Regions from separate parts of the Homo sapiens genome. Here regions 1 and 2 are each linked to region 3. Evidence: promoter capture Hi-C in 16 types of primary human blood cells and fetal thymus (Javierre and others, 2016). All regions are on one chromosome and are shown on one strand. The core of a region is centred on a gene start or on the middle of the fragment in contact, and the rest is flanking DNA. Distances in the headings are between cores, read along the strand shown. Region 1 has its middle 130 kb from the start of SNORD137. Region 2 has its middle 59 kb from the start of SNORD137. Region 3 holds the start of LURAP1L (leucine rich adaptor protein 1 like).

Region 1 (2,748 bases), core at 219-2,718, 330 kb after region 3:
TCACAAAATACTCACACTTGACACAACCTTCCAAAAAGTGTCTAAAGTTAAGTGAATAAGTTGAAGTTTCCTCCTAGAAGCAGCCTAAGGCAGTGTTTTGATGGTGTTATCCTTTTGGAAATTTCAAATAACAACTCCAGTGAAGCAATTCTGAGATCCTTACCATACATTTGCCTCCTGCTTGACATAATGCCTTTTAAGGGCCTATTATTGAACTTTCAGTACTTGACTGACAATAACAATTCTTACACAGATAATACCATTTTTGTTCTAAATTACACTGAAATGAATATGGAATACTTGTATTTTGAGGAAAAGGAAAATTCAATGCCAAGCATATAAAAATCACCTTAAGAACATTTGCTTTCCCCAGTTTTCATGCTCTTAGTTAGAACTTTTCTTGACACCAATTTTTTGCCTCTTAAGGTATTGAAGGCCAATCCTGCCTTACAAATAACTCTCTTTAGAAAAGGACAAAGTTAAACATTAATTCCTAGTAGTCAAAGTTGAGAAACATCTTTGCACAAATCAAATGCATTCCAGAATATCTGTCACTGACATGAAACAACACACCAGGGCTGCTGAAAGCAAGTGATGATAGTTTTGACATTCCCACACCTAGACCAAAAAAAAAAAAGCCTATTTATTACTTGTCTCCCTGAACACATCCTTTCAACTTCTCTATTCACCCTGGGATCTCAAGAGGGGCACCAAATCATTGTACGGCATTCTCAGACAATAAACTAGCTGAGCAAATCTAAGGCAGTTTAGTATCATATACCTCAGAGCAGGGAAGAGCTCCTTTTGCTTCTTCCTATCTATCAGAATCTGCTTTGTCAAGATTCATAAAATGGAAAAAAAAAACCCTCTCCTCCTTTATCTTTTTTTTTTTTTCGCGACGGAGTCTCACTCTGTCACCCAGGCTGGAGCACAGTGGCGTGATCTCGGCTCACGGCAAGCTCCACCTCCCGGGTTCACACCATTCTCCTGCCTCAGCCTCCCAAGTAGCTGGGACTACAGGCGCCCGCTACCATGCCCGGCTAATTTTTTTGCATTTTTAGTAGAGACAGGGTTTCACTGTTAGCCGGGATGGTCTTGATCTCCTGACCTCATGATCTGCCTGCCTCAGCCTCCCAAAGTGCTGAGATTACAGGTGTGAGCCACTGTGCCCGGCCCCTTTGTCTTATCTTTAACGAATTTTAATTTTTTTATGCTTCTAACTCCATCACTGTTCTGATATATGAATTTTACTGATTGGCTACATTACCTTGCTATTCCTGCTGCTAATATATGTGTGTGTGTGTGTGTGTGTGTGTGTGTGTGTGTGTGTGTGTGTGTGTGTATATATGAAATACTTTATTACTGTTATTATCCTTTTGGAGTGGTATGAAGAATACCAGAAATCTGTGGTATTTCCAGTTTGATTTAATCAAACGTAATTATATTTATGGAACCTATTATGGGCAATCCACTGTTTTGGGTAGTATGTTGGCATTAACATTGTAATAGTCAAGTCTTTATTTAAACTCTTTGTTCAAGTACTTTCTTCTTTCTTCTTTCACCACAGACAACTACTATATTTCCAGAAAGAAAAAATATAGCAAGCATAAGGCTTCATTACTTATCCCCAGGACTTATGAATCTATATTCTTTTCCTCTCAAACTTTACTTTCCTTCCTCCCTCCCTCCTTCCATTTTCTCTTTAATGTGCTTTGTCTTTGTTAATTAATAGCTACTCACAGAGTTTCTCCTGTTAGCCAGACATAATGACAGTAGCTCAGGACACAAACTTTTTTTTTTTTTTGAGACAAGGTTTTACTCCCATTGCCCACTGGAGTGCAATGGTGCGATCTTGGCTCACTGCAACCGCTGCCTCCCAGACTCAAGTGATTCTCCTGCCTCAGCCTCCCGAGTAGCTGTCTGGCTAGTTGTTTTTTTTTGTTTTTTGTACTTTCTGTAGCGACGGGGTTTTACCATGTTGCTCAGGCTGGTCTCAAAATCCTGAGCTCAAGAGATCAGCTCACCTCGGCCTCTCAAAGTGCTGGAATTACAGGCATGAGCCACCACGTGCAACCAACATTTAAGATACTCTAACAGTTTCCCAGTGCTTAAACAAAGTACCACAAACTGTGGCTTAAAACAACAGAGATTTATTTTCTCACAGTATAGAGGGCAGAAGCCTGAAATCAAGGTGTCAATAAGGCCAACTTCTTTCTGAAGGCCCTAGGGAAAAAACATTCCTTGTCTCTTCCAGCTTTTGAGGGCCCCCTAGGTATTCCTTGGCTTGTTTGTTTTGTTTTGTTTTGCCTCCATCTTCATGGGGCCTTCTTCCCTATGTCTGTGCCTTCACAATACCTACTTACACAGAAACCAGTCCTAGGATAGAGAACACCCTAAATCAGCATGAACTTAACTCATTACATCTGCAAAGACCCCATTTCCAAAGGTCACGTTCTGAGGTTCCAGATGGACATGAATCATGGGAAGACACTATTTAAACTGGGCTGTTCTTGTTGGGGGCACTTAGACATTATGAAACTTGAAGGGGTTGGGTGGCTTTCTCCCATACAGTCTGGTATGGAGCATCCTCTATAAAAATTCTTTGCTAGCTCAAACTCAGATGTGAGGTTAGTTCATCTTCCAGCAGCCTACCATGAAATAATGGCATCTTTCGTTATGGAGAGCCACTAAATGATGGCTAAGAAGGTAGATGTGTCACTGGGATACTAAAATGAGTTTTGTTACATT
Region 2 (3,004 bases), core at 450-2,949, 260 kb after region 3:
GAACCTATTCAACTCAATGCTTCTCTGACGTGCCTGAACATGATGGTTGTTTTTTGGGGTTAGTTGTATATGTCTGTGTTGGGAGTCATTGGGGAGGAGAGGCCAGTTGTACTCTAATAATATCTCTACTACTGGTTTGCAAAATGCTGTTCATGGCAAACTAAGAAGTTTGAAGACTCCAATAGAATAAAACCTGAATGGAGCCTCCTGTAGTTGTGCAACATGTTGGCCTGTTTAGAGTTTGATCTATAATAAATAAGAAGCCATTTTAATTTTCGTACAGGAAACATACAGGGTAAAAGTGTCTGTTTTGATAGTGTTACCCTGACAGTGATAATGCTGAGTAAAGTTAATGAAGGAAAGAAAACACAGAGTAGTTGGGAAAGTATTGCTCTAGCCTAGGCAAGAATGCTTGAACCTCAACAACAGCAAAGGAAATGAACAGCCAAGGGAAGATATGAAAGATTACTAAAGAAGAATTTGCCAAACAAGAGAAATTGCCAGATATCTGGAACATGGGAAAGATACTAAATATTGAGTTGGAAGCAGTGGGTTGGTATTAAGGTGATAAATCAGAAATAACAACAAAAAAGTAAATAACATTATAACAAGCAAACTGAGGACAGGCAAGGACAGCGGATGAAATGGCAATAAGGATTGAAACAAAATTTTGGTTATGATATGAATAGCCTAGAGTGAAAACTTTAGGAGTTTATTACTCATTTTATAAGGAAGCTACTAAAGCTTTCTTAGTAGGGCATGGGAAGATTAGCAGTATATTTTTGTAAGCTTTGTTGGGTACCAGTGTAGTTTAGAATTAACTGGAGAAGGGAGACAGTGGAGCAGTGTCTAAGAGACAACAGTGGGAAAAGGAAAGAGGAGAGACTCAAGCTGTTTCACTGCTAGAATATGGCAACAGGCAGGGCCAAGTTTATAGCAAGCACTCACAGGTACAGAAAAGTCAAGCATGGGCCGGGCGCGGAGGCTCACGCCTGTAATCCCAGCACTTTGGAGGGCCGAGGCGGGCGGATCACGAGGTCAGGAGATCGTGACCATCCTGGCTAACACGGTGGAAAGCCCATCTCTACTTAAAAAAAAAAAAAAAAAAAAAAAAAAAATTAGCTGGGCGTGGTCGTGGGCGCCTATAGTCCCAGCTACTCGGGAGGCTGCACTCCAGCCTGGGCGACAGATACTCCGTCTCAAAAAAAACAAAACAAAAACAAAAACAAAAACAAAAATCAAGCATGATAATATTGTTATCAAAATATCAGAATGGAAAGAGGGGGAAGGCAGTCAAAGTTAAGGGTGGAGGCAGCAGGTGAATCAGAACAGATTCTCAGTTCCATCTGGAACAAGTTAAGTTTGAGTAGCTGGTGGGTTAATCAGGAAGACACATTCTGCAGACAGCCAAAGCTGAAGGGAGATGAAGATTGTAGAGACAATTAGGTTATCACTGAGGTTAAAAGTACCAAACAAGACTGTCCTGCCTCCACGACTTACTCTCTGTGTGACTCTGTGAAAGTTACTTATCTTTTCTGTGACTCAGTTTTCTCTCTCTCTTTTTTTTTTTTTTGAGTTGGAGTCTCACACTGTTGCCCAGGCTGGAGTGGAGTGGTGCAATCTCGGCTCACTGCAACCTCTGCCTCCCAGGTTCAAGCCAGTCTCCTTGCCTCAGCCTCCCAAGTAGCTGGGATTACAGGTTCCCACCACCACGCTCCGCTAATTTTTGTATTTTTATTAGAGTCAGGGTTTCACTATGTTGGCCAGGCTGGTCTTGAACTCCTCACCTCAGGCAATCCTCCCACCTCAGCCTCCCAAAGTGCTGGGATTACAGGCATGAGCCACCGTGCCTGGCAGAAAATAACATTTTAATTTTGTCATCATGTTTACATAAGTTCCAATTTTTTTTAGGTCATGTAAATATAGAGCAATTTAGGCAGAGAATAATTTCAATTATTGACCACAAGAATTGTTTGTTTGTTTGTTTTAAAGAAAGATTTTTTTCTTTTCTCTCAAAATGGTACTGTGACCATAAAGACATTTTCCTATAAATTCATAAAGAAAATAAAGATAGTTTGGTGCTTAACACTCGAGACACCTGGAGGTAAAATAAATAGTTGCCAAGGATTGTATTTACAATTATATTTTATATGAAGTAACACATGGTCTTATTAGCTTCAGTTTAATATAATTCTCCCTGCAAATGTCAGTGGAAGTGAAAAGAATCTTCCAAAGAAGCTGAACCGGAAGCCGATATGCTTACAAGCATGGGCGTTGGGTTGTGTTTTGATTTGGTAGGGAAAGTAATGGAAAACTCTGGGCTTCCTAGGTCCCTCTTCCTTGACGTATAGGCCACAGTGATTTGGCAAAAGCAGAACTGAAGCAGAACTTTCTGAATTTTTTCAGCGGTAGTATATGACCCCATTATACACACCAACTGTGTGGGCTGAGCACGTGTGAGCAATGGAAGTGAACAACCTAACACAAGATGAGACAAGGATGATTTAGTGAAGAGTCGCAACGCCTTGAGAACATAGCCATAAAGCAGGTTTATTTTCCCAATCATTGTTAACAAATATGCTCTGCTCATTAAGATCACATTTTTTTTTCAAGCTTGTTAGCTCATCTGATCATATAAATTTTCACTTGTTTTATGTCATTAGAGGAGTTCCTTTTTCCCGCTCCGGCGCCTCATTGTTGGAGCAGGGCCATCTCCACATGGGACTTCAGGGAGGGAGGCTGCCGCTCTCCCTGAACGCTGCGATCGCTGAGGCCTAGAGGCTGGGTATGAACACAAGTGTTCTTCCAGCTTCCTACTACCTGCTGTTTTTGAGTCTAAAATTATCAGAGATTGTTCATATTTATTCATTTATTTTTGAGATAGAGTCTCACTCTGTCGCCCAGGCTGGAGTGCAATGGCACAGTCTCGGCTCACTGCAACCTCTGCCTGCCGGGTTCAAGCAATTCTCCTGCCTCAGCCTCCTGAGCAGCTGGGATCACAGGC
Region 3 (2,777 bases), core at 101-2,600:
GCCTTATGCTGAACTTTGTAAGGGTTTTGTAATAATAAACTGTTCTTGACTGAAACACAAGCCTTTCATAATTACATGCCACAGTGCAATTCTTATGCAACGAGCTTGTGTTTTTCCAAATTTAGGACCAAGCATGTAGTTTTATCAGTTAGCTGGGATTTGGTCTTGTTTTCCCTTGATTCTGTAAGTGGTAGTTCTAACTTTGAAATGGGTCATCTAACTTATAACTATTTTCTTCATTTCTTTTTAAAAGGGAGAAATAGCATGCAAATTTCTGGCATGTTGATAGAAAGTTCAGCATTTTTTCCCTGACATGAAATATTTCATTTAGAATGCGTATGTTTCCTCTACGTATAAGGTTTCCTAGAGTCAGATATGATAAAAACAAACTCTGAGATGTATATACCTATGTTCCTACAAGTGTAAAACCTGAATGATGTCTCTGGAAATGGAGCCTCGGAGTGACCAGGAACACAAATACTTATATGTCACAGAAATAGAGGGGCACATACTTTGAAATATTTCAATGGAAATCAAAAATTGTAGTTTACTGGATTGAAATTAGTATCCTCTACTTAAACATTTTTGACACAAACTCAATGCTGATTCAGATCTGTAATCCATGTAGCTCATAATAACTTACTTGGTAGAAGTATTTCAGATTAATGAATTGTACAATTGTACAAATTAATAAATTGTACAATTGTTCAACTATACAATTAATTGTACAATTTGTATAGTTGAAAAAATCTATAAATTAATTTATAGATAAATTATCAAAGAAGACAACATTTTAAATAGTTATTCCCAATATTTTTTCTTCCATAATTAAAATAAAAGTAAGTATCTCAGCAATTGCTTGTTCTTAAAATTTCACTGCTATCTCAGCAGTCATGTAAGTTATTCTGGCTATTTAATTTTTCACTTTTGTTTGCATACTGTAACAGTTGGTAGGATAATTAATTTTGATTGTACATTTCCATTGAACTTTTGATGAAATTGTTTCACTCTTTTTATTAGAATAAAATTATTAGGAAAGTCTTCTAAAGAGAGGTTTTCTGTTTGTTTTTCCTTTGAGGAAGGTAGAGAGATGGGAAACGAAGACACCAAATATAAAGTCATTCCTCTATCTCTCATTTTAAAACCTGTTTTAAAGGTTGTAGCTAGTCAGGAAAACTGAAAAATCAACTGGTATTCCTAACTAAAGCAGGGCTTTGAAACTCTGCTACTAGCGACAGGGTTGGGAAAATTCCGGTTGCTCTTCTTGTCTGTGATATACGGTAGAAGGGTTGGTCCTGGTTTGGTCCACCTGCCAGCGGAGTTTAAAGTTTCCGAGGCTCAGAGGAACACAATGACTTGGATCAAACAGCCTAAATGGGAAGAAGGACATTTTTGCTGCATCAAGGAAGCCGTTAAACTCCTGCTAAGCTAACTAGCTCTTTTTTATGGGTCCATGCACACGACCGAACTCCTCTTTCACTGACCAGAGATTATTTCTGACAACCCAGGATATCCCGAAAGCTTGGAGGCATATGGCTGGAAAATGAAACGACCCAGGACATCGTTTCTGGCTGCATCATTATTTTGTGTCGCGTAGTACCAGATGGGCAGTCAGTGAGCGGCGCAGGGATGTGAACGGACGGTTTTATAATGTGAAAATTTTCCCTTGGTAAAGCTAAAACAGATTTAATTTCCCTCTCTTTTCTTTCACTACTTCCCCCTCTTTATTCCCCCTCTGTCTGCAATATCAGTGAACTCAACTTTGCAGTGAGGTGGCCAAAAAGAGAGAGAATGAGGAGATCTTGATCATCTTAGTGTCGGAGGAGTCGCAGCGGACTGGGAACTGCAGCTGCGACCCCCCGCGTCCTGTGCGGATTTCAGGGCTGATACCGCATAGGCGGTTATGGAAAGGACGGTACACCGGAGCGGCGGAGGATAGAGACCCTGGCCCCCGGAGAGGTCTGCTGATTTCGCAGCAGCCTTCGAAGCCGTGGCTGCCTTTCATCTGCTGCGTTTTATTACTATTATCGCCGTTCCGGAAAAGTCATGGAAGACAGCCCGCTGCCAGACCTCAGAGACATCGAGCTGAAGCTGGGGCGCAAAGTACCCGAGAGTCTAGTGCGCTCTCTCCGTGGGGAGGAGCCGGTTCCCAGGGAAAGGGACAGGGACCCCTGCGGGGGGAGCGGTGGTGGTGGCGGCGGCGGCGGCGGCTGCAGTAGCAGCAGCAGCTACTGCAGCTTCCCTCCCTCCTTGTCGTCCTCCTCTTCGTCCTCCCCAACCTCTGGCTCCCCACGAGGTAGCCACTCTAGCGCCCTGGAGAGGCTAGAAACCAAGCTTCACCTCCTCAGGCAAGAGATGGTGAGTGTGGTGCGCCAGCCGCGGGGGCTGGGACCTGGGCTGGGCCAAAAGATGGGGCGATCTGAGAATGGGGCTGGGAGAGAGGACGGCAGGGGCTGCAGAGCGGAGCGCTGGGCGCGTGGGAAATGCTGGGTGGAGGAATGAGCAGGGGGCGCTCATCCGGAGGCAGCTGCTGCGAGGCTTGTTTACCGCGGACTTTGCTCGGTCACGGTTTGCAAAGACAGCACAGTCGGCTGGCTCCACTCTGTGTACTTTCGGACAACGCGACTCACTGCGCCGGGCTCTATTTAGCTGCCAGCCCGTAGCCTCTTAGGCACCAGCCCGTTGAGAGTTTGCAGTTATTGCACCCATCTAAGGCCTGCTGTGCGCTGTTAACACTTCGGGTAGGTTCAAAAGGTGGCTCAGTCCAATGCACTTAC

What was found. The method cuts DNA at HindIII sites, captures the fragments that hold promoters and counts their contacts. A CHiCAGO score of 5 or more calls a contact.
Region 1: a fragment that was not itself captured here is called in contact with the fragment with the promoter of LURAP1L in region 3 in 2 of 17 cell types (megakaryocytes and endothelial precursors); the score reaches 7.0 in megakaryocytes.
Region 2: a contact is called between a fragment that was not itself captured here and the fragment with the promoter of LURAP1L in region 3, in 1 of 17 cell types (megakaryocytes). The highest score is 8.5, in megakaryocytes.

The regions. Positions count from the first base shown.
Region 1 is chr9:13,102,315-13,105,062 of GRCh38, forward strand. No RefSeq gene overlaps it. Among named protein-coding and RNA genes, the nearest start is that of SNORD137, 130 kb to the left of the region's middle. The HindIII fragment of the contact is 3,526 bases long and covers 1-2,748 here.
Region 2 is chr9:13,030,062-13,033,065 of GRCh38, forward strand. It overlaps the pseudogene LOC100130801. Among named protein-coding and RNA genes, the nearest start is that of SNORD137, 59 kb to the left of the region's middle. The HindIII fragment of the contact is 1,824 bases long and covers 788-2,611 here.
Region 3 is chr9:12,773,670-12,776,446 of GRCh38, forward strand. It overlaps LURAP1L (leucine rich adaptor protein 1 like), which reads left to right and starts at 1,351. Exons shown (of 2, transcript NM_203403.2): 1 at 1,351-2,358. The coding sequence starts at 2,047. All of the region lies in intron 2 of LURAP1L-AS1 (LURAP1L antisense RNA 1), which reads right to left. The HindIII fragment of the contact is 1,821 bases long and covers 1-1,519 here.